Linked DNA regions of Homo sapiens: all the other regions are linked to region 4. Evidence: promoter capture Hi-C in 16 types of primary human blood cells and fetal thymus (Javierre and others, 2016). All regions are on one chromosome and are shown on one strand. The core of a region is centred on a gene start or on the middle of the fragment in contact, and the rest is flanking DNA. Distances in the headings are between cores, read along the strand shown.

Region 1 (3,411 bases), core at 60-2,559, 310 kb before region 4:
TGGCTTATAGTCTTCTATTTCTTTGTTTAGGTATTCTATTTCCTTCTGCTAATTTGTTCCATCCATTATTAAAAGGGGGTATTGAAGTCTCCAATTAATACACTTGAATTGTATATTTCTTGCTTCATTTCTGTCAGTTTTTGCTTTGTGTATTTTGGTACTTTTTTGTTAGGTGTATATGTGCTTATAGTTGTTACATCTTCCTGATAGAGTGACATTCTTCTTCTTTAAAAAGTTGCTTTTTATCTTTAGTAACTTTTTGCTGTTCTTTTAAAATGCACTTAAGAATCTGTTATTAATATAGTCACTTGGCTATTCTTCTGATTGCTGTTTGCATAATACATGTTTTTCTATCCTTTTACTTTCCATCTATTTATATCTTTGAATCCAAAATGTGCCTCCTGTATACAGCAATTAGATTGGGTCTTATATTTTTTAAAAATGTTTTTTGACAGTGTTACTAACTGGATCTTGGTTTTTAAATCCAGTCTGACAATTTCTACCTTTGATTGGATTATTGAATCCTTTCACATTTAATGTCATTATTAATAGAGTTTATGTCTGCCATTTGACTTTTTTCTATATGTCTTTTTTATACTTCTATAACCCTGTACTGCTTTTTTTGCATAAGTGAGTATTTTGTAGTGTAGCATCTTGGTATCTTTACTGATTGATTTTTTTCACTATATTTTGGGAGTTATTTTCCTAGCTATTGCTCTAGGGCTTACCATATACACCTTATCAGAATCAGCTTCTACTGTACATTAACTTAATTCCAGTGAGACATAAAAATATTACTCCTATAGAGCTTTATTCCCTTTCCTCACATTTTGTCATATTTTATACATATTACATTTATAAATGTTACAAACCAAACATTAGATTGTTATAAGTATCACTTTCTGTAATTTTATGTCTTTTATAGAAGCTGAGACAAAAAAGGAGGATTACTATATATTTATAGCTTTTTTCATATTAGTCTTATTTATCATTTCTGAATCACTGTATTTGTTTCTGTGGATTCAAGTTATCATCTGGACTAATTTCCTTAGCCTACTACAAATTTGCTCCTACCAACCTCCTTTGTGCTATCACTGGAAAACATATTACATTTTTATGTTATAGGCCCAACAATACATTATGTACATATTATCTTATATGATTGCTTTTGAAATCAATTAAGAGAAAAAAGGAGAAGAAATGTGTGTTTATACTGTCTTTTATAGTCACATAATTACCTTTATCAGTGCTCTTTGTCTTTTGGTGTAGATTCAAATTACCATCAAGGGTCACTTGCTTTTAGCTTGAAAAACTTCCTTTATTATTTCTTATAAGGTGTATCTGCTAGAAACAAATTTTCTCAGTTTTTGTTTATCTCAGAATAGTTTTATTTCACCTTGATTTTTGAATGATAGTTTTGTTGGATATAGTATTCTTGGTTAACAGTTGTTTCCTTTGAGCACTTTTTAATATGTTGTCCTACTTCCTTTGGACCTCCATTGTTTCTGATGAGAAATCAGCTTTTAATCTTATTGAGGTTCCCTTGTAACAGAGAAGTCATTTTCCTCTTGCTATTTTTAAGGTTTTCCTTGTCTTTGGCTTTCAGTATTTTGCCATAATGTGTCTGCTTATGGATCTTCTTGAATTTATCCTACTTGGAGTTTCTTAAGCATCCTGGCCATAAATATTTTAAAATAAACTTTGAAAGATTTCAGCCACTATTTCATCTAATAATTTAATAATTTTTTTCTGTTTCTTCCTCTCTCTCCTCTCCTTTTGGTACTGCCATTATGCATAGCAGTTGGTGCACTTAATGGTGTCTCATGTTTTCCTGAAGCTCTGTACATTTGTCCTCATTCTTTTTTCTCTCTGTTCTTCATATTGCATAATTTCTATTAGTTTATCTTCAAGATTGTTAATTCTGTTTTTTCTTGTCAGTTCAAATCTACATTGAGCCTCTCTAAAAAATTTTTGTCTCAGTTATTGTATTTTTCAGCTCCATATTTCCTTTAAAAAAATAAGCCTCTCAGCCTGAGCAACATGGCAAAATCCCATATTTACAAAAAATGAAAAATTAGCTAGGCATGGTGGCATGCACCTGTAGTTCCAGCTACTCAGGTGGCTGAGGTGGGAGGACCGCTTGAGCCTAGGAGGTTAAGGCTGCAGTGAGCCATGATTGTCCCACTGCACTTCAGCCTGGGTGATAGAGCAAGACCCTATTTCAAAATAAATAATAATAATAATAATGTCTTTACTGATATTCTGTGTTTGATGGGGACATTGTAATTATGCTTTCATTTAATTCTTCAACTATGGTTTGTTTTTTGAACATATCTATAATAGCAATTTTAAGGTCTTTGTAAAATCTGACATCTGGTTGCTCTCACAGGTGATTTCTATTGACTGTTTTTTATTTTTTTTCTAGTACATATTTTTACTCCTTTTTTTTCCTGGTCATACTTTCCTGTTTCTTTGCATGTGTCATAATTTTTTTGTTGAAAATTGGACATTTTAGGTCATATAGCAGCAACTCTGGGTACTGGTCTCCCACTTCTTTTAGAGCTTGTTGTTGTTATTTGCTTATTTGTTTAGTGACTGGATTATTGAAATATTCCCACTCCCCCACAGCTCCACAGTAAGAAGACTCCAATGTTGCTCCCAGGGGGAGTACAGCATTGGATAGGCTCACAGGCACCCTGCAATGGCAGTGGCTTTGGCAGTGCTCTGATTTTCTTTCCCTGACCACACCCAGCTGGTACCAGATCTTGTACCAGGTTTGATTTTTCCTTGGTGCTGTCAATGGAATTTAATTCCATTAATTGCAAGCTGATTGCTCTATTGTTTTCAACAATGTACTGGGGCATAAGTGGTTCCACAGACATATGCAATTAAATTTGGGTCTCTTTGAAGAGATAGTTCCTGAAGTCAATGCTTGAAATTTGTTCTGGCCCCAGGAGATCTCTTTCCCTGATTGTCTCTGGCAAACTAACCTGCCTGAAATGCTGCCTATGTCGCCAATGGATCTACCAATCTTCTAATTTGCTTTCACCAGAACCTCCCTAAGAGCATTTTTGTAAGTGGCTTAAACTTTTCCATCCTCTGTTGCACATGAAATCAGTTCCTTTGGGGAAAGATTTAGAGTTCTTTTTTTACAGTTTGTTTCTACCCCAAGCAAAATCTCTGAGCTGCAGCTCTGGAGCTGGGGTTGGGGACAATGGTGTGCTTTCCTGAATGACACCCCCACTTTAGGAGCTGAATGCTCAGTGGAGTGAGATGAATAGCCTCAGGTCTTCTTGGCTTATCTCTCCCAACATGGAAATTCTGCCTAAGGGTGATTGGGGCCCTGGCACACATTGCACAGCCACTGTTCTAAGAATGAGGGCTGGGTAGAAGGGAGTCTCCATCTCCGGG
Region 2 (3,487 bases), core at 560-3,059, 440 kb before region 4:
CTGCATCGTTATGGCCCTACTGTCCAGCTCCTGCCTTTTCTCCCACAGCAGCATCATCTTATCTGGTGTGTTTCTAGTTCCCTAATGACAGAGAGCTGTGTTTCCTCCATTAGACTGGGGGCCCAAGGAATGAAAGAACCATGTGTTTTTCAAGTAGTGCATAATGCCTAACTGTGGTAGATTTAATTATTGTTCAGCAACTATTCATTCTCCTCTCCCAACCTTCATAGGAGGCATTGCTGCCTCACTAATGTTGGCTTGGCCATGTGACTTATTTTAGCCAATGAGATGAAAGAGAATATGACACAAGCAAAGACTTGAAATGCACTTGTATGGTAGATTTTGGACTCTTGCATTCCTGCCTTTAACTATAAATGTGCCTGAGATGGCTTCAGGTCAAGGAGGACAAGAGACATGGGAACAGATCTAGACCCAGTCTGCAGCTCGAAGCCTAGTTCTACCAAGTTCAGCCAAAATCAACTGAACCTAAGACACTTAAGAAAAAAATAAATGTTTATTGTTTTATGTCACTGAGTTTTGGATTGTTTTGTTACACAGCACTATGGTGGTAACAGCTGACTAATATACTGCCCAAATCTAGCATTTAGTATACACCCAATTTCTATTTCAACACCTCCCTATAGATCTGGTGAGTTTCAGAAATTTATGAGACAAACCCCATAGTCCAGTGCTCAAATGGAAAGGATGATAAGAAAGTCAACTGTGGTGTTTCCACAAACTATTCTTCAAATGTTAGTACTGAAAGGACAGGCTTCTCGCTGACATAAGCACTGCACATTTACACTGCAAGGCAGAAAATGGCCCCCTGGCAATCTCAGCCCCACAAGCCCCACAGTCTTTTCCCTCACCTGTTCAGAAGTTTTGTAAAAGGCCACAGAGGCATTGACCAATTTTAGCCGGTCTTCCATCTTCAGCATGAGCTGCTGCCAGTGGAGGGCCACCTTCTCAGCACATTCCCGGATGGCATCGGCATCGTAGTGGCCGGCCTGGAGCAGCACCTCGGCTTTCTGCTGTACCTGCAGGGCACTCTGGTGCGTCTTCTGCAAGGAAGTGGCATGAAAGAGGGACTGGGCACAAGGAGAGGAGAGAAAGGTCCGTGGGAACAACCCAGGCGTGGTATGGGAGGGGGTGGAGTGAGGCGTGAGTGAAAAGATGCAGAGAAGTTAAAGAGCTTTAAATGACTGATCCATTTTGTCATGACCATTAATACATTATTATTTTTAAAGCATATTTAAAAAAAGAATATCATACATTTTTATTAGCTAATCTCTCACGACCCTAACTCCTGTCCCCACTTCTTTCTTTTTCCTTGCAGCACTCTAGATTTTAAGGACATTTCAGTTTCTGTAGCAGAGAAACAGAAGTTATGTATCAATCTGCTCACTAATTGGTTCATAAATTTCCTTTACAAATAGAATAATAAAATTGTACATTGAGTTTTCGAAGGAGGTTACTACTGCAGTCCCATTTTACAGATCAAGTATAGACAGCACATGAAAAGAAACTTCATGTAACACAAATCTCAGCTAACAATGCAATCATTTAAAACATTAATAATCAGTTGAAAAAGATTCCAGTTGAAGGAATAAATTTGGCAGGTTAATAAAGCTAGAGAGTAACCTCCTACATCATCCCTTAATTACTTCACTGGGGGGCATAACAGTGCAGGAGATAATTCACTTCAATACATAATCCCCATGTTATTTACATATCCCTTGAGGAGATACATATATATGTAGAAGGTCTATTTTCTTTCCTTTTTTTTTTTTTTTTTTTTAGACAGGGTCTTGATCTATCACCGAGGCTGAAGTGCAGTGCAATGGTGCAATCATGGCTTGCTGCAGCCTTGAACTGGGCTCAAGCAATCCTCTTGCCTCAGTCTCCAAAGTAGATGGATAGCTGGGACTACAGGTGTGTGCCATCACACTTGGCTAATTTTTCACTTTTTGTAGAAATGGGATCTTGCTGTCTGCCCAGGCTGGTCTCAAACTCCTGGCCTCAAATGATCCTCTGCCTCAGCCTCCCAAAGTGCTGGGATTACAGGCAAGAACCACCACATCTGACCAGAAGTTCTTTTTTTTTTAATCCTTTTTATTTATTAACTTTTTATTTACTTTTTTACTTTTTATTTTTTATTAACTTTTTTATTTTCCCTGATGGAACCCAGGGTCCTTTCTTAGGGTTCAAGAAAGAAGTCAAATTATGCTCCCCACCAACAATCATTGTAAAGGCCTCTAGTAACACTGTCAAAATGGGTTAAGCCAAACCCAACTGCTTTCACTCCCTTTGAAATAGCTTATCTTCCCTGGCATATTTTCCTTCTGATGGAGAACCTAGTCTGAACTGAAACATTTAAGGAGAAGCACAGGCCACCTGGAGAAGGAGCATATGTTGCAATTCTGGTTCCGTTCCCTTCATTGTTCTAGGCAATGCAGACTCTGCCTACCTTTCATTCCCAATATCTTCTAGAAATCCTAACTGCTCTGCCATGCCCTCTCGAGACTAAGTGGCCTATATCTCAACATCAATTCCAAGAATATTTGATCAAGTTGTATCCAGATAGAAACCCAGAACTGATTAAGAGGTGTTTATGCTTAGTGAGCCTCTATTCTGTAAAGATGAAATGGTGTCTAACACAAATGAATACATATTGCATATGCAGTCATGTGGAATATAGTCATTTCAAGCACTGTGAATACATTTACCCATGCTTCCTCAAAAGCTCATTGAGATGCTTAAGTGTGTTATGACACTTGGTCTTACTTGGCCACCATTTGATTGAGGCAAACCTTTTCATTGAAGATAAAGAGGAGGTATGGCCAAGAGCTGTCTTCATTCTGCCCAGCATGCCTCATAACTGTGCTATACCTCTAATCTGATCGCTCAGCCTTCATTTTCTTCGTTGCTGCTTATGACTGTGGGAACTTGACTGCTATGTGCCCAATTCTTTTTTTGTTTTTGAGACAGGGTCTCACTCTATTACCCAGGCTGGAGTGCAGTGGCGCAATCTCAGCTCACTGCGACTTCCACCTCCTGGGTTCAAGCAATTATCCTGCCTCAGCCTCCCGAGTAGCTGGGATTACAAGTACCCACCACCATGCCTGGCTACTTTTTTTTTTGTATTTTCAGTAGAGATGGGGTTTCACCATTTGGCCAGGCTGGTCTTGAACTCCTGATCTCAAGAGGTCTGCCCATCTTGGCCTCCCAAATTGCTGGGATTACACATGTGAACCACCATGTCTGGCCCTGATTCTTGATTATAACCCCAATCCTGATTTTTTCTTTATAGTGAATACATGCTAACACTGTGATATTTCAGTGTGTCAGAAAGCTACAATAGAGACAGCTGATGATAATAAAACTCATTTCCTTTGGTTAATTCCGCCTTAGAAAATGATTTGCTGATGCTGTGTGTGCAATATGAAGTTTGTTTTTAAATCTCAAATCCCAGACAGTTCTTCTAGTA
Region 3 (3,324 bases), core at 799-3,298, 410 kb before region 4:
GGAGCCTCTATCATAGAATTCTTAAATTGTATGATGATTCTCTGTTTCTGTGTCTCCCTGTTATGTCCTCAATGTCCAACATAGTTTTTGCTACATAAGGAGGTGCTCACCAAATGTTTACTGAGTTGAATTTCTATATAGGTAAAAGGCTGACCGAATGGTCTCTTTCTAATATAAAATGCTAAGGGCCTCTGTGTGCAACTAATTGAAGAGTTGAGACCACCAGTAAGTTATAATCAGCTTATCTTCTCTAGGCAGAAGTTTCTTCCTTGAATGCCATTTCTCCCCAGCCTTAGCCTGGCCCCTATTTGTTTTACATGAACCCCATAGATTTAGAATTGATATATCATTCCCTACTCAAATAAACTTTCAGGTGCATTAAGCATACCTCGCTTGCAATTACACAGTTAGAGATTTAAAAGAAAAACCATAAAGGTGGCCCATATTTTCAGAAAGTCCCTTGTCTAGAATATCCTTCTTAGTGTCATTTCTAAGGCTTTCCAACATAAGTATGCCCATCTCAGAAAATGCCCCAAATTATCCAATGATGGTAGAAAAACTATCTTGATATAAATATGCATATATGTGTATATATATTATATTGTGCACATATATTTTATCAAGCCAATACAAAGTATATAAAATTTCCCAGGATTTTCATTAGTAGACTGGTGCTGGAGTCTCACTCTGACCACATGGCAGATGGCTTTGTGTAGTGCACGAAAAAGAGAGCTCCTCGGGGAAGGGGGGAAGGTAGGAGTGTCACAACTCAGTGGCTGACTGTGGCTCATTTGTTCATTGCTTTCAGCACATTTCAAATTATTGCTTTTTTTCATGTGTCCAGTTAAATAGATTTATCTACTATCTAGTTTTAACTAAACTAACCTTCACAAAAAGACACGTGGTTTAACGAGTTTCCTGCAAAGAAACTGCAGTTTGAAGATAATACCAATCATGAAAGCACAAGAGAACTTTGAATTCTCTGTCAGCCACATTATGGGGTAAGGCAACAATGACAATCTAATCTGATCTCTCAAGAAACCAGGCAAAAAATAATTGGAAATTATCAGAAGACTATTTGAAATATGGAACCCACAATTTCTAATGAAAAAACTAAACCTCTCCCAAAGAGCATGTTGAATTTTGAAATTATTAGGCAGTGACCGAACGTTTTTATAACTTAAAAATGAATAAATATTTATATGTAGGGGGTTGCAAGTTCAAAAAAATTGAGAAGGCACACAATCAAAAATGTTTGGAGACCACTGGCCTATTCTTGCTTCTAAAAATATTTTTCATTTCTTTCTGATTATCCTAATTGTATAAAACTTGGAAATGCAAGAAAGCATCAAAAATAAGAAAAAAAATCACCTGTATTCTTACCATCACAAAATAAACATTTGTATTTGGTGAAATGTCTCTTCTATCATAACTAGTTTATATAAAATGTCTTTCATAGAAGGAGGCTGAACCTAAAGGAAAAAAACGTTATAGAACATCATGTTCCACTATAGGTCACTTTGGTCTCCATGGAGTCCAAGAAGGTATACCAGGAATCCAGCTATGGGCCTGGTTTTGAACATCTGACTAACAAATTTAGGATGTTTCACTTTATGTGGGCATGCCCTATGATCTCATTCCAGGTTATAATGTGAGTACCATTATTATTGAGTACAAAGAGATTGGTGCAGCAGCTCATGTGCTATCCTAATGATTACATTAACTGGCTCATCTGGGCCCTCAGTGATATGGCTAAGGAGTCATGTTTAGATTCCTCAGATGCAGGGTAGCAGTCCTCCTCCAGTGTTCAGTAATCCTGAGGAATTTGGAGCATGTCTATCAAATGCCTTCCTTTAGGAAGGAAACCACACTGTAGGTCCTGTAATCACAGACCCTGCCCTGGCTTATGTCAGCATAAACACGCCTCTCGTTACAGAAACCACCCTCAGTTTCACACCAGAAGCTTCTCTAAAAGTTTGTTCTTCATCCCCACAGTGAGACATAGCTGGTATTTGAATAATCTCAACACCCTCAAAAATAACTTCTGACAATCTGACTTGAAGCAGAACTTTTCTATAGGTTTGGCAGGATTTCCAGTTCTAAGATTAGATGTAGCATTCTCCCCAAGCTTTTGGGCCTCCCCCACAAGACAAGGGAATAAGACCCCTTGTAAAATCCGGACGTTATAGCCTACACCAGAGGATGCAGGATCCTATCATGATTTTTCTCTCCCTCATTTTATGAGGCCCTCACACTCTTGCTCTCCTGCATACCAGGTTGTCCAGTACTTAGGGTGGGACGAGGAATTTTTATACATACAAAGGCTAAAGAATGCAAATCCAATAATTTATTTGTTTATTTTTTATTTTTTTCTGAGACAGGGTCTCACTCTGTCATCTAGGCTGGAGTGCAGTGGTGTGATCACAGCTCACTGCAACCTCCGCCTCCTGGGCTCAAGTGATCCTACCATCTTAGCCTCCTGAGTAGCTGGGACCATGGGTGCTCACCACCACACTCGGTTTTTGTTTATATTTTTGGTGGAGATGGAGTTTCACCACGTTGCCCAGGCTGGTCTTGAGCTCCTGAGTTCAAGTGATCTGCCAGCCTCAGCCTCCCAAAGTGCTGGGATTATAGGCGTGAGCCACCACCCTTGGCTCCATAATTTAAGTGTCAAGTTCCTCTCTCGTAACCTTTAAGCCAGATCCAATTTTAATGCATGTGATTTAAACCCACATTTTTTAAAGGATATTTTCTCCATATGCTTTGGATTGTTTTTTAGGAGTGGAACTTGATTTGCCTACAATCGATGCTAGTAAAGACACACTTGCGATGCCCCCAGCTGATGTGAGGGGTGTAGTCGATGTCAAAGTGAAGCTAACTGACCCATTCCAGCGCTGAACCAGCAACCCTGACTTCCAGGTCACAGCTATCTTTTCAAATAAAACTTAATCCAAACCCTCAGATTGTTTCCTCCCCCTTAAGCATGTTTTGAAGCAGACCTGGAATGACAGGAGAGTAAATAAGAAGTACAACAGCAAAACCACCACACCTGCTAACATAATTTCTCCATGGATATATTCTCTCCCAGTGGGCAAAATGGAGCTGAGGAATGATTGCAGGAATGCCTTGGGCTACTTTAATCAACTTAGCCTGTATTTATTTTTGTACATCTCAATCCATATTACTAAAGAATAATGACCCATACCCTCTCTTTTATCTCTTTATTACCTTGTTACCCTGCCTTTACAATGTTCACTACATACACTCTTCACTACATGTCAATATTTTTATTTTCCCACTGGCATTTTTATTGTTTTTCAAAAT
Region 4 (3,029 bases), core at 130-2,629:
GAACTAATCTATTTAGACTAATACACACTGTTGTATAAATGGAATGAAGGATTAGATGATGCAATGGGCCCCTTTAAAATAGGTGTGAAGTGACACGGGATGTAGCAGAGAAAGATGGGGCTTTTCTTGCCTCCTTGGGTGCTTAAAACGAACAGTCTTGAGACCAGGTGCGGTAGCTCAAACCTGTAATCCCAATACTTTGGGAGACCAAGGCAGGTGGATCACTTGAGCCCAGGGATTCAAGACCAGCCTGGGCAACATGGCAAAACCCCGTTTATAAAAATATAAAAATTAGCCTGTCATCGTGGCAAGCACCTGCAGTCTCAGCTACTTGGGAGGCTGAGGTGGGAGGATTGCTTAGACCTAGGAGATTGAGGCTGCAGTGAGTCATGATTACCCCATTGCACTCCAGCCTGGGCAACAGAGCAAGACCCTGTCTCAAAACACACACACACACACACACACACACACACACACACACACACACACACACACAGTCTTGAAACCGGAAGACCTGGAGTAAAGTTGGGCCCTGAGCCCTACTGCCAGCTGTTCGATCACAGGCAAAATTACTCGAAGCCTTGAGCCTGTTTTTTATTTCCAAAGCGAAGGTAATACCTACCTTCAGAGTTTACTGTGAAACTTTGATGTCATCATGTTTGTAAAAGTGCCCTGGCACAGTGACCACATTCTACCCTATAAATATTTTCTATCTTTCCCTGTTGTCCCCAGGCATCTCAGGCTCTGTTCCTATCCACTCCATGCCCCTTTCTTAGCATTATAAGGTCAAGAGTGAGGAATCTGGGACCACGCAACCCAGATTCAGATCCTGACTCTGTCACTTGCTGACTGTCATCTTGGACAAGTTTAACCTCTCTGTGCTCAGTTCCCTCATCTGTAAAAATGGGGATAACAATAGTACTTGCCTCATGGGGTGACAGTAAGGATGAAATGAGTTCATGTGTGTAATGCACTTAGAACAATTCCTGGCACCAAAAACTCATTGTAAGAAGTGTTGTTACTATGATTCCTGAGGAATTCTCACCTGTCCACTTTCCACAAGCCGAAAGATCAAGCTCCACTTCTGCCCTCTCACCTACAAAAGCGCACCGTCAATGGCTACACATTCCGCCCCACCCCCAACGCCCCCAGCCCGGGTTTCCTAACGTCCCCAGCCCAGTCCTTAACCCTCCAGGCCGTCTGGTCCTTCCACCACCAGCAAAGCCCAAAACAGCTTTCAGCGTCCCCTAGCAGCGCCCTAGCGGGACCCTGGGAACCCGCCGCTGCAGGAGAGGCGGGGCGGCTCTGTGACGTCGCGCCCGGCGCTACCCCTGGTGACCTGGCAGCGGAGCCCGCGCAGGGTTTGCCAGGCGAAGGCGGAGCGCTAACGTCTAACGCTAACGGCGGTCGTGCCCCGCCGCTGCTGTCACCCCCGGCCGCTGCTGCCCTCCCCGCCGAGGTTCTACTGCTCTCCTTCTTAAGAAGGGTGGGAGGCACTCGGTCTCTCCCCACACCTCTCGCCTGAGGCCAGGCGCCAGGTGTCGCCTGAAGCCAGACAGCCGGTTTGGGAGCGAGCCTGAGGTAGCCACCCCGAGGGGAAGTGGAGGGAGGGCAGGGCTCTGAGCGCCCCGAGGGCTGCGCTGGTCTGAGGGAGGAGCCCTGCCGGACGCCCCCTGGATTCTGAGCCTCTCCTTGTTCACAGGGCAAGGGGAAGGCAAGGGGATCTTCAAGAGAATGTGACTGTGGGGGATTATGGCTTTCTGGCCAATTTGTGTGCGTATTTTGTACCCAGAATACTATTATACGGTTTCTTACCCGGAGGACAGTGGTTGGGAGGCTCAAGAGTTTGGAATCAGAGCCCTCCACCGAGGAGCCACACCTCTGCTTTTTCATCAGCGACAGGGATATAAAAATACCTCTGGGTGAATTGTCATGTGGATGTCATGGGCATACCTAGCACTTCATAGACTCCTATCACACATTATTTTATACCTAGCACTTCATAGACTCCTGTCAGGCATTATTTTATACCTGGCACTTCATAGACTCCTATCACATATTATTTTATACCTAGCACTTCATAGACTCCTATCACGCATTATTTTATACCTAGCACTTCATAGACTCCTATCACGTGTTCATTTTATAGCTAGCACTTCATAGACTGCTATCACGCATTCATTTTTACTAGTACCTATTGAACACTAAGTTCCAGGCACTGGGCTAGGCACTGGGATGGTGTGGTGAGCAAAAACTGACCAGTCCTGCCGTGGAGTTTGCTGGGGGAGACACATGTTACTCAAAGAATCACACTAAGGATAGGTAAGTGATGCTCTGGAAGGGTATGTACAATGGAACTGACAGGGTAATCAGGGAAGGTTAAGCAGACCTCCAAAGGAAGAATCAACCTGTTAAGAGGAGGAGAATGTATTCCAAACAAGAGTAACCACATCCCAAACCCACCATCTCCAATTCCAAACCCAAACAGGGATGTGCAGTTGCCTGTGCTTGGTTCCAAGTGATACTCATAGAAACCCTCTGAGATTCTGCCCTGGAGCCTTTCATTCATGTTACTGGAGACTTTCATTTATGAAACGGAAGCCCTGTTTAGCCCATACCAATAAAACCAAGTGAGAGATCCCTGAAACAAGGCTATAGTCTATTTTAAGACCTACATTCTTCAGCACTTGGCAGGTATATGTTGGCCTCCATTTTACATTGAGAGGCATGTAGGTTTCACTTAGGAGGAAATGCATTGAATTGAAAGAGTTGGGGTTATGGATAAGCTCTGGAATGTATAATTGAAGAAGACCTACACTATCAAGAGATTTAAAAATGGAAAATAACTTTACAAAATGTTAGAATTGAGGAATGTTAAGATAGAATGGACCTTTCTCCCACTTCTTTGATGTGAACAAATGACCCTTATTGCCCAAAGGCAGGAAAGCTGGGCTTTGGTGCCTCTTCAACTCAGAGAGTCTATGATTTCAACTCTGTGATTCAAAAGTGCATGGAACTCCTGAAAGTAA
Region 5 (3,091 bases), core at 227-2,726, 340 kb after region 4:
GGGCAGAGGACTCTGGTTGAGGGGATTCCAGGCAAAAGTCCTCCACGGTCTGCTCAGATGCTTGTTAGTTATAAAGCTTCATAGGCCATCCCTCTGCTGAAGAGGGAAATGGCTCTCAGGGAAGTGGCGTGTGTGTTCACGCACGTGTGTGTGTGTGTGTTGGCAGAGAGGTGGGATCAAGTGACAGGTCATTGTAGGTCATTTCTGTGGAGCAGATGGGGTGGGATCATATTAAAAAGGCAGTGCTGATTAACCCACACTCCATGAAGCCCGGCTAATGTTGGCTCTGACCTTCACCACTACCACCACAGCCACTGCCACTCCTGCCTCTCGCTCTTCTACTTCATTCTCATGCCTCATTTGCATCCCTGTTGGTACCCTAGCCCTCATCCCACATCCACTCACCATGTGTTCTGTGCCCCTCCTGTGTTCTAGGCACTGCCATGGGCACTGGGGATACACTGGGGGACAAAGCATGGGTTCCCCGTGGAGCTCCAGTGGCTTCTCTATGCCAGAGCCACTCCTAAGACTAGGGTCCCTGAACTGACAATGTACTCCCAAACCCAAGTGCACAGAGCCAGAACCTTACCACAGCCCCGCTCCCTCCCAGCCCAGCCAGGTCTTGAACTGTACTCCTCCTCAAATCCTGCTGTCACTCAAATCCACTCCATCCCTGCTCCTTACCCTAATTTGTTCTAGTCTGTATAATTGTTAGCAAAACAGCTACTGTGACTGAGGCTTCTTGCAGAACTGGAGCCTCCTTGCAACCCCCAGGACAGTTCGAGATATAAAGCCTGTACCGCTCCCATCCCAGGCTGCAGCTACGCCCTGGCCTCAGAGGCCGTCTCCGGGGCGGGGGTGCCCTCTAGTGTTCTCTGGGTGTGCAACAGTCCTTGGCTGCAGGAAGGGACAATTCTCTGTCCAGGGGACTGACTGGACTTGTGCCATGTGAGGGTCCTGAGCACTCAGCTGATCCTCTCCCAAACACTCCAGGGTAACGAGACTCTCATCTGTTTGCAGAAATATCTCAGAACCATCTTCCAAATAGCCTTCCACTTAGCTCATGGATCTCATAGCTCATTCTGAACAGATTTTTTTTTTTTTTAAGTTCAGTGGAAGACCCTTCCCTAGTGGAAAGATGGAAACCAGTTCACCTTTCTCAACAACCCTTTATGCACCAAGAGCTCTGCTAATTGAACTGTGGTCTTTCCTCTACTTCTCTCTCACTCCTCCCCTTGTGGTCAAATAGAAGAGAGGCAGGACAAGAAGGGAAAAGCAGAAGGGGATGTAGCAGCCTGGAATCTTTCTCTTTTTTAAAGAGATCGGGTCTCACTCTGTTGCACAGGCTGGATTTGAACTCCTAGACGCAAGCATTCCTCCCGCCTCAGCCTCCCGAATAGCTGGGACTACAGGCACTTGCCACTGCTCCCTGCTTAGTCCGGACTCTTGATCCGAGTTTCCTGCAGCATAAAGGAACACAGTGCACTAGAAAGAGGGGCTGGAATTCCTTGAGAATGATCTAGGTCCTTCCCCCAGAGCATTAGCATGAGAATCAGATCTGCCACAGACCTCTGGGGTGAGAGGCGAAGGTGAGGCATGGATGTGGGCTCATGAGTGAGGCCAGAGGCTGGCCCTGTGGCTGTCTACCTGGACTCACAGTGACAGGCAGGGGCCAGCTCTAGGACTGGATGCCCCCTTCAAGGCACGCAGGGAAAGCCTCCTGCTGCCGGGCCATTGGCAAGACTGCTTCTCCTGACACCAGGCCAGGAAAGCTGCCCTCTCCTTTCCCTCTCACTCTGCTGCTTGGAATACACTGGTCTCCATGCCACGCCGGGAAAATGTGGCACAGGAACAAGAAATAAAGGATGACTCAACTGGTGAACCACTATATCAGGCAGCAGCACCACAGGTCAAGACAGGGGCCTCCCTGACAGTAAATAGGATGATTCTGTGTCGAAGACCTAGTCCAGTGACTGGTCCACCTGGTGTCCCATCACTCATTGACTCCAATATTGTTGCTTCTCTTAAAACCCTGTTTATAATATCATCACTGAACTAACCTAAATGTCTATTGAACATACTTATTATTCTAGTGGTACTTCTCATGTGTGAGTTCCATATCCCTCCAGCCTTCCTCCTACGTGAGGTAGAACACTAAATGGTTCCCCCAAGATGCAGTAGTCATGAGTTGATGAAAAGTCTGAAACTCTCATCTCATCCTTGGCGATTGTGTGATTCTCTTTAAAGTCATGTCCATTTTAGACTTCTTTCCCAACCTCAGAGGCCTCACCTTTTCTGATTAAGACATAGCCCTTCCCTTCAGTGGTCTTGCTTGCCACCTCCAGCTCCATTGTGGCTTTTGGACTGCCGACAGCCAGAGCTCCAGGGCAGGCACCCAGGGCGCTCTCAACAGCTACCCAGTACTCACCCCTGTTTGGGGCCCATGCACACTTTGCCCTGTGACAGCATCTGACAGCCCAAGCAGTAGATTGAGGAGCTGCTGTTTCTGTCTTGGGTATTAACTATGGACTTTAGGGTTCACCACCCTAAAAGGTAGAATGATCAGATTCTCCTGAACACTAACTCCATTCCTGGCTTCTAGTTGCATTGCTCTCAGGTCATCCTTTCCACCTGTGAATTGGACAATGCCACTCTTAACTCTCCAACATGTGGATTTAGGAATATTGACCAGTTAGGCCCACATCCCGACAGTAACCGTGAAACCCACCTCTGATACTTCAGCTAGACTATCTGGGTGTCCCTGTCTATCTCATCCTTTTTTATTTTTCCATGGCAGCTTCCTTTCTGTGATAAAATATACTTTCCAATCCCATTCATGTTTAGTTTTAGTCTTTTTTTAAAAAAACTAAGCTTTGTCAGCAGCATTTTAAGAACTCTAAACACACTCACACTCACACTCACACCGGTACACCCGCACTCACACTCATATGCCCACTCTCTCTCACACACACACACATACACACACACTCACACTTTAAAAATCCTTTTCCTCCCTCTATGCTTTCTCTCCTGTCTTTGTTTTGCTTCCTTGGGAAACCTCCCATTCATTGTCCAGCTGTCAGCCAGGACG
Region 6 (3,075 bases), core at 500-2,999, 470 kb before region 4:
CTTAATTTTTGTGGCATCTTCTCTGGTTGTTGAGAGGCTAGTTGTTATTTTCTTTTTCTTTCTTCATAATATTCTAACTCGATAATATGTGCTGGGTAGCTGTGTTCTTGATAGTTGGATTTATTCCTCGATTTACAGCATGCGAGATTCTCTATGGTTTAATTTGATTTTTTAAAAGGATTTCTTAGAACTATATATTGTAACTGGTAGGTAGATTTTCAGCTATTTAGAAAACTACAAAACTGTTTACCATGGTTTACCAGTGATATCATGACAGCAGAATAAGAGGCATGATTATGTTAGCTATTTTGTTACAAGTGATCAATTTGGAAATGTATATTCATTCCCCTTATAAACTGATTGGCAAATGTAGGGCTCCCAGAAAGTGCGTGCTGTGATCTCTAGGCTTCCGTAGTTAGTCAATTGGCTAAGAACATGGGGAAAGTGAGACTTGTTGAGTAAATCCCAGAGACCATAAGCCAGAAAAGTAAGGTAACACGACTTACCGTTTGCCAGTCCGATGTCTTCTCAGATATCCTGAGGGAGATGGGATGATACTGAGCTGGGCTCAGATGATGGAATTTGGGATCAATGGTCAAATAGTTTTATTGGGCTCTTATCAGTGATAAGCATGAGGACATGATATTTCTACATCTGGAAATTTCCAGACAAACCAAATGGATCGTGTTAAAATTTATGATTAAAAAAACAAAAGACTGGGAACTTATATCACATATTCCAGAAAGTCAAACAGTTATTTTTCCCCCAGAGCGTATTGCTTCAATAATCTCACAAGGTTTGCATGCCATGGGAGCTACATATATTATGTTCTCTTTAAACTGATGCCATCTGATGACATACCAGGAATTAATAACCAGGAGGTGAAGAGAGAGGAGTGACTTTCCACCCCTTATCTGGACCTATTACAGCCCAGGATCATTTTACACCCAATTCTTGCTTGCCTCTTGGTCATTCTTAGCACAGGGCTATTCTAGAGCTGAGATATCGAATATGGCAGCCACTTGCTACTTGTGGTCTATTTAAATCTGAATCTATTAAAATTAAATAAAATTGAAAATTCAGTTCCTCAGTAGCACTAGCCACATTTCAAGTGTTCATTAGCCACACATATCTAGTGCTACTGTATTGGACACTGCAGATATAGAACATTTCCATCATTGCAGAAGGTTCCATGGGACAGTGCTATTCTGGAGTCTTGCCTCAGGGTGGCTGCTACACCTGTACACATGGCCCTTCTATCTCCAGCAAACCTACACAACTCAGTAAATGCCTCTGCTAGCCTGGCACAGCACTGCTCTGCAGCAGGGTCCTGAGAGCTCTAAGACTTTATGCCCATGTTCTTCTTTGTGTCTTGAGATTCTATTTGTATTTTGGAAACACAGTTATTTCTATTGGTTGGTTATGTAACTTATCATGCCAATTTTTTTGCTGATCCTTTGTTAACCATGGAACATGCTGTTTTGTATGGTGTGGGAAAAATTCTTAAATCAAGTTGGAAACAATGACTTGTGAAGTTTTAGGGCTCTACAATTCTACTTATTCCAACAAAACAGAGTATCGGTTGATATCCTTCCCTCCAAACTGTCAAGAAATGTGAAATAAAATGAGGATGGAGGAAATATTTAGGTTGATAGAAAACTTCAATGGAATTCAAAACCTAAAGATCACAAGGTGGAATGGTTAGCCTCAGATGAATTCTAACGTCAGGATTTCCCACAAGATTTAATGAGGAGAAGCTACTTTTATTTCTTCAAAGCCTGCTATTCATTCTGGCTGAATAAATGAGGATGTTGAGGAGAGATGGGGAGGAGCACTGCTGAATACTTGACTTTACTCTCCACTAGGACTTTCGGACAATTATGGAGAAAGGGGAGTGAGTAAAAAAGAAGTCTGACAGCAACTGCCTTAGAAAACTGACCAGATAAGATTCACCAATCGCCTTTGATCCACTTCTTGGGAACCCTGTTGTCTGGTTTTTACGGCCTAAGTGTGCACCTCTGAGACCCTCCACAAACCTACTTGTTATGGAAATCGTAGATCTCTTGGATGTTGCCAAAGATGATATGCTCTTTATTGAGGATCCCAGGGGGGATCTCCTCCACACCACTGGTCATTTCCCACAGGTAGGTCTGTAAGACAGTAACAGTTTCATCACTGGCAAGTCTGGCAGGCCATATAAAATACAGACAAAATACACAGGTGCTCAAACTTGTGGGGCAAGACTCAAACTGTAAATGCGTGCAGAGTTTAAAAAGTGACGTGTTAAGTAAACATAAGAGAAAGAAATAAAACCTGAATATTTCATTATCCTGAACTTTAGCAAGAACACAAACTCCACAGTCTCTTGTCATTTATTAAATGTGTGTGGACTTTTATGGGGGTCAGGATGCAGATTTTCAGACCCAATTTAAGTTCACTGACTGTGTCATGGTTTTATTTTGAATTGAAGTGCCTTACACACTTCTTGTTCCTGGGTCTAGCTCCAGTCTGAGAAAAGTTTAAACTTTCTTTTCAAAAGTACTTTAAACTCTCATGTAATTATTGTTGACTTTAGGAGAAAGATTTCCTCTTGTTGACTTTTTAATTCATTACTCTCTGGGAGAAGACCAATAGCACCAAATTCCAATTGAGGACTTGATGCTGGCAAGGATGTCATTTTTCCAATATAGCTGTGAACGGATTACTGGAAGACTCACCTCTAAGCACTCATGCAAATCCCTTACATAAGCCTTCTCTGTCTGGAGTAGTTCAGCCATAATAAATCTAGAAGGAAACAAATGGGCTTTTACTTGGATATAGATATAATGTCTCTCCTCCTTCAAACTTCACTTCCCCACCCCAGCATGTATGACATTCTTAAATGTCTTATTTTTCTACTTCATCAACAGGTCTTTTCCTTTCTTCAAAATTCCTTCCCTTTCCTACAAGTATCTTCCTATGATACTTGTGATATTTCCTGACCATTGGCCCTGTAACCCTTTAGCAGGTTTGTGCTCAGCTAGGTCCATATTCTCTCTCCCTTTTCCACCCCAGTCCTACTATTAATACTTGTGA
Region 7 (3,203 bases), core at 1-2,500, 500 kb before region 4:
CCCCCTCTTGGAGAAAGGCCTCTCTTATTGTTAGTCTTCAGTTACTGAAGGGTTTTTTTCTCTCTGCTAACTCCAGAGACTGCTGAACACTTCCATAGACATCTCTGAGAATTGCAATTAGATCTCTCCTGCCCCCTTCCTGCACCATGTCTTTTATATACATAACCAATATTAGTGGAATCTCCTGCAAAGGTCCTATGCAACCTCACACCTTCACACACCCACAGTTGGCCTCCTGCAAGGGCAAATCCCATAGCTCCTTTGTCCTCCACAACTTTCTACTGTTCCTGACTTGTAGCTATGAGTGGGGTTGAGGACAAACACTGCCTGACTGAGTGTCTTCAGCTCCTCTTTATGTGTCATTCATTACCTTAATTCTTCTTATTATTATTTTTTATTTTTTTTGCAGTGGCATGATCGTGGGTCACTGCAGCCTTGAACTCCCAGGTTCAAGTGATCCTCCCAGCTTAGCTTCCCAAGTAGCTGGGTCATAGGTACATGCCACCATGCCCAGGTAATTTTTGTATTTTCTGTAGAGACAAGGTCTCCCTATGTTGCCCAGGCTGGTCTTGAGCTCAAGTGATCCTCCCACCTTGGCCTCCCAAAGTGTAGGATTATAGGCATGAGCCACTGTGCCTGACCTACCTTAATTCTTATATTCCATTTCTAGAATTCCTCCCTTTGATTACTTTGCACAAGCCTTCAACAGTTTATATTTATACCACTTGAAGTTTTTAAGAGATGCTCTCAAACTTTACTGTGCATAAGGATCACCTGGAGAGCTTGTGAAAACACAGATTACTGCCCACCCTCCAACCTCCCCAGATATTCTGATTTAGTAGGTGTGGGGTGAGTCCATGAATGTGCACTTCTGACAAGCTCCCAGGTGCTGTTGCTGCTGCTGGTAAACAGACCATGCATGGAGTAGCTGGATCCAGAGCATAGGTCAGGGACAGACTGGAGGAGCTGGGTACTTGCAGGTACTTCCAGGGTGGGGTGGAGGGGAAGGTACAAACAGAGAGGAAAGGAGTGGAGAAAAATGTCAACAGGAATACATTGAGATGGTTCCTGCTCAGCCTAGGGAAAATAGCCAGGGCTCCTTTGCTCTAAGAATTGAGGCTTCTGGTGCTAAGGATGGTCTGGGAAGTATGGAGACCGTATCAAGTCTCCCAAGGTGGTGTTGGTGGTATTGGCGGAGTAGGATGGAGTCCAGAAGAGAAAAAACAGCCCACGTGTTTACATATTTGCAACAGACTATACACATTTCCTTTAGCACCCATTAAAAATGTTAAGTCTTTTTGTTTGTTTGTTTTTGTTTTTTGAGATGGAGTCTTGCTCTATCGCCCAGGCTGGAGTGCAGTGGTGCGATCTCAGCTCACGGCAACCTCTGCCTCCTGGGTTCAAGCGATTCTCACACCTCAGCCTCCCGAGTAGCTGGGATTACAGGCATGCACCACCACCCCTGGCTAATTTTTGTATTTTTAGTAGAGACGGGGTTTCGCCATGTTGGCCAGGCTGGTCTGGAACTCCTGACCTCAGGTGATCCACCCACCTTGGCCTCCCAAAAAAATGTTAAATCTTAACTCATCTAACAAATTCCACCCCAGTATGGCTGCTCTGCCCACTCATTCTGCAGTGTTAAGACCACTTTATTGGAATCTTACTCTACAGGTTTCTGGTCCCAAGAAGATAGCTTCATCTGACTGAAGTCTTATCAGAGTTGTTTGGCTGGACTTACTAACCTTCTAGAGGACAAAATGCTGGTTGCACAAGAATGTGAATGTATTTAATGCCACCGAACTGTACATTCAAAAATGGTTAAAATGGTAAATTTATGTTATACATATTATGTATATTTTACCATAATAACAAAAAAAGAGCATAAGGCTGAAGATGGTATGTTTTGTGTGTATGTGTGTCTGTGTGTGTTTATGTGATCAGGCTTTCTATTCATTGTGATGACCAAGGCAATGTAATGCAGATGCTATGCAGACTAACAAGACTGCTGTAGGTTGGAAGCTCTAGCACATCAACAGTGAGGGTGATGGCCTGTCCTGGACTGTCTCATGGGCAGCAACATGTCCACATAACCTCCAGTGGCTTAGGCCTGGTCCTTCCTAGAAGCAGGGTGCTAGCCAAATTGGTCCTTGTGGAGCCCCTCTCACATGACAAGGGCCTATGTAACTACTTGTCATTTCTTCTCTCTTCCAGCCTTGCACCTTGTCTAACTTCATGCCACTTCCCTCCCATGATACAAGCTCCCCCGTGTCAAGGAAGAGAGGAGGCTTCCCCAGTGCTGGGAGGACAGCTACCTTCCAGCATGCTGACATGCATGGCATCATTGGCTTTCTTTGGGACACTGAGCATCACCTCCAGGCCATCCTTGAGCTCCCCTTTCCCTTCTTCACAGCAAGTTAAAAGTTCCTGGGGAAAAAAAAGTCCGGACATAATTAGGGCCATCTCCCCCAGCTTCCTCCCACCACCTAACCCAGCAAGGAAATTATAGACCAGCTTCGCTCTCTGTAATGGTTCCCTCTGAGCTATAAAGAAAGTGAGGTGGGGTAAAAGGGGTTATCTCTAAGAATTCAAGCACTATTTTTCTCCCACACTGAGCATTCTCAGCCCAATCTAGCCCAAACTAACTCAATCCAACCCAACTCCCAAATGGCTTGACCTGTAAGGCAGCAACTGAGGCATTCTCTGTCACTGGACTGCCCTCTTAGAGAAGGGACTACCCTGGCAAAGCACGTGAACAGAGGTGCAGTATTGTATAATCCAATAAAGAGAATAAAGAGAAGAATGAGGAGGATAAAGGGAAGATAAAGAGTGTGCTATGCAGTACCCAAATATCCCTGCATGCTTACTGCTGACACCACTTTTATTTACAAGCCTCTACAGCCTGAATGCTGACTTCCATCCCACTGGGAACAACTTGAGGTTGGAGACTTAATAGGCTTATGACATCCCAGAGTAATAAAATATTTTTAGATCATATGGATCAGGAGTTCCTAATCTGGGGCCAATAGATGGGCTTCTAGGCTATTTCATTGTCAGATGAGGTAAGTGCGATTAAGAGAGATGAAGTGATTTTCCTCAGGTTATATAACTCAGTGGAGGCTATGCAGGGGCCTGAATCCAGGTCTCCTGAATCCAAGTCTGGCACTTTATCCACCACATCAACCCTGTCTCTCCTATATTCTGTC

What was found. Contacts are between HindIII fragments. The CHiCAGO score rates a contact against its expected background, and 5 or more counts as called.
Region 1: a fragment that was not itself captured here is called in contact with the fragment with the promoter of ROPN1 in region 4 in 1 of 17 cell types (endothelial precursors); the score reaches 5.2 in endothelial precursors.
Region 2: a fragment that was not itself captured here is called in contact with the fragment with the promoter of ROPN1 in region 4 in 1 of 17 cell types (endothelial precursors); the score reaches 5.1 in endothelial precursors.
Region 3: a fragment that was not itself captured here is called in contact with the fragment with the promoter of ROPN1 in region 4 in 1 of 17 cell types (M1 macrophages); the score reaches 7.0 in M1 macrophages.
Region 5: a contact is called between a fragment that was not itself captured here and the fragment with the promoter of ROPN1 in region 4, in 3 of 17 cell types (M0 macrophages, naive B cells and endothelial precursors). The highest score is 5.4, in M0 macrophages.
Region 6: a fragment that was not itself captured here is called in contact with the fragment with the promoter of ROPN1 in region 4 in 5 of 17 cell types (endothelial precursors, M1 macrophages, M2 macrophages and 2 more); the score reaches 7.9 in endothelial precursors.
Region 7: a contact is called between a fragment that was not itself captured here and the fragment with the promoter of ROPN1 in region 4, in 3 of 17 cell types (M1 macrophages, M0 macrophages and endothelial precursors). The highest score is 7.0, in M1 macrophages.

What each region holds. Positions count from the first base shown.
Region 1 is chr3:124,304,905-124,308,315 of GRCh38, reverse strand. All of the region lies in intron 6 of KALRN (kalirin RhoGEF kinase), which reads right to left. Among named protein-coding and RNA genes, the nearest start is that of MIR6083, 68 kb to the left of the region's middle. The HindIII fragment of the contact is 4,472 bases long and covers 1-3,411 here.
Region 2 is chr3:124,431,908-124,435,394 of GRCh38, reverse strand. KALRN (kalirin RhoGEF kinase) reads right to left here. Exons shown (of 60, transcript NM_001388419.1): 17 at 870-1,088. Among named protein-coding and RNA genes, the nearest start is that of MIR6083, 59 kb to the right of the region's middle. The HindIII fragment of the contact is 4,450 bases long and covers 1-3,487 here.
Region 3 is chr3:124,400,555-124,403,878 of GRCh38, reverse strand. All of the region lies in intron 13 of KALRN (kalirin RhoGEF kinase), which reads right to left. Among named protein-coding and RNA genes, the nearest start is that of MIR6083, 28 kb to the right of the region's middle. The HindIII fragment of the contact is 165 bases long and covers 1,966-2,130 here.
Region 4 is chr3:123,990,474-123,993,502 of GRCh38, reverse strand. It overlaps ROPN1 (rhophilin associated tail protein 1), which reads left to right and starts at 1,379. Exons shown (of 6, transcript NM_001317774.2): 1 at 1,379-1,581. RefSeq lists an enhancer at 1,091-1,607. The HindIII fragment of the contact is 3,137 bases long and covers 1-3,029 here.
Region 5 is chr3:123,650,308-123,653,398 of GRCh38, reverse strand. The region is part of intron 24 of MYLK (myosin light chain kinase); the gene reads left to right. All of the region lies in intron 1 of LOC124909421 (a long non-coding RNA gene), which reads right to left. Among named protein-coding and RNA genes, the nearest start is that of MYLK-AS2, 38 kb to the left of the region's middle. RefSeq lists an enhancer at 2,816-3,091. The HindIII fragment of the contact is 2,795 bases long and covers 79-2,873 here.
Region 6 is chr3:124,461,599-124,464,673 of GRCh38, reverse strand. It overlaps KALRN (kalirin RhoGEF kinase), which reads right to left. Exons shown (of 60, transcript NM_001388419.1): 24 at 2,718-2,784; 25 at 2,041-2,150. Among named protein-coding and RNA genes, the nearest start is that of MIR6083, 89 kb to the right of the region's middle. The HindIII fragment of the contact is 4,372 bases long and covers 1-3,075 here.
Region 7 is chr3:124,487,425-124,490,627 of GRCh38, reverse strand. KALRN (kalirin RhoGEF kinase) reads right to left here. Exons shown (of 60, transcript NM_001388419.1): 29 at 2,313-2,424. Among named protein-coding and RNA genes, the nearest start is that of MIR6083, 110 kb to the right of the region's middle. The HindIII fragment of the contact is 5,495 bases long and covers 1-3,203 here.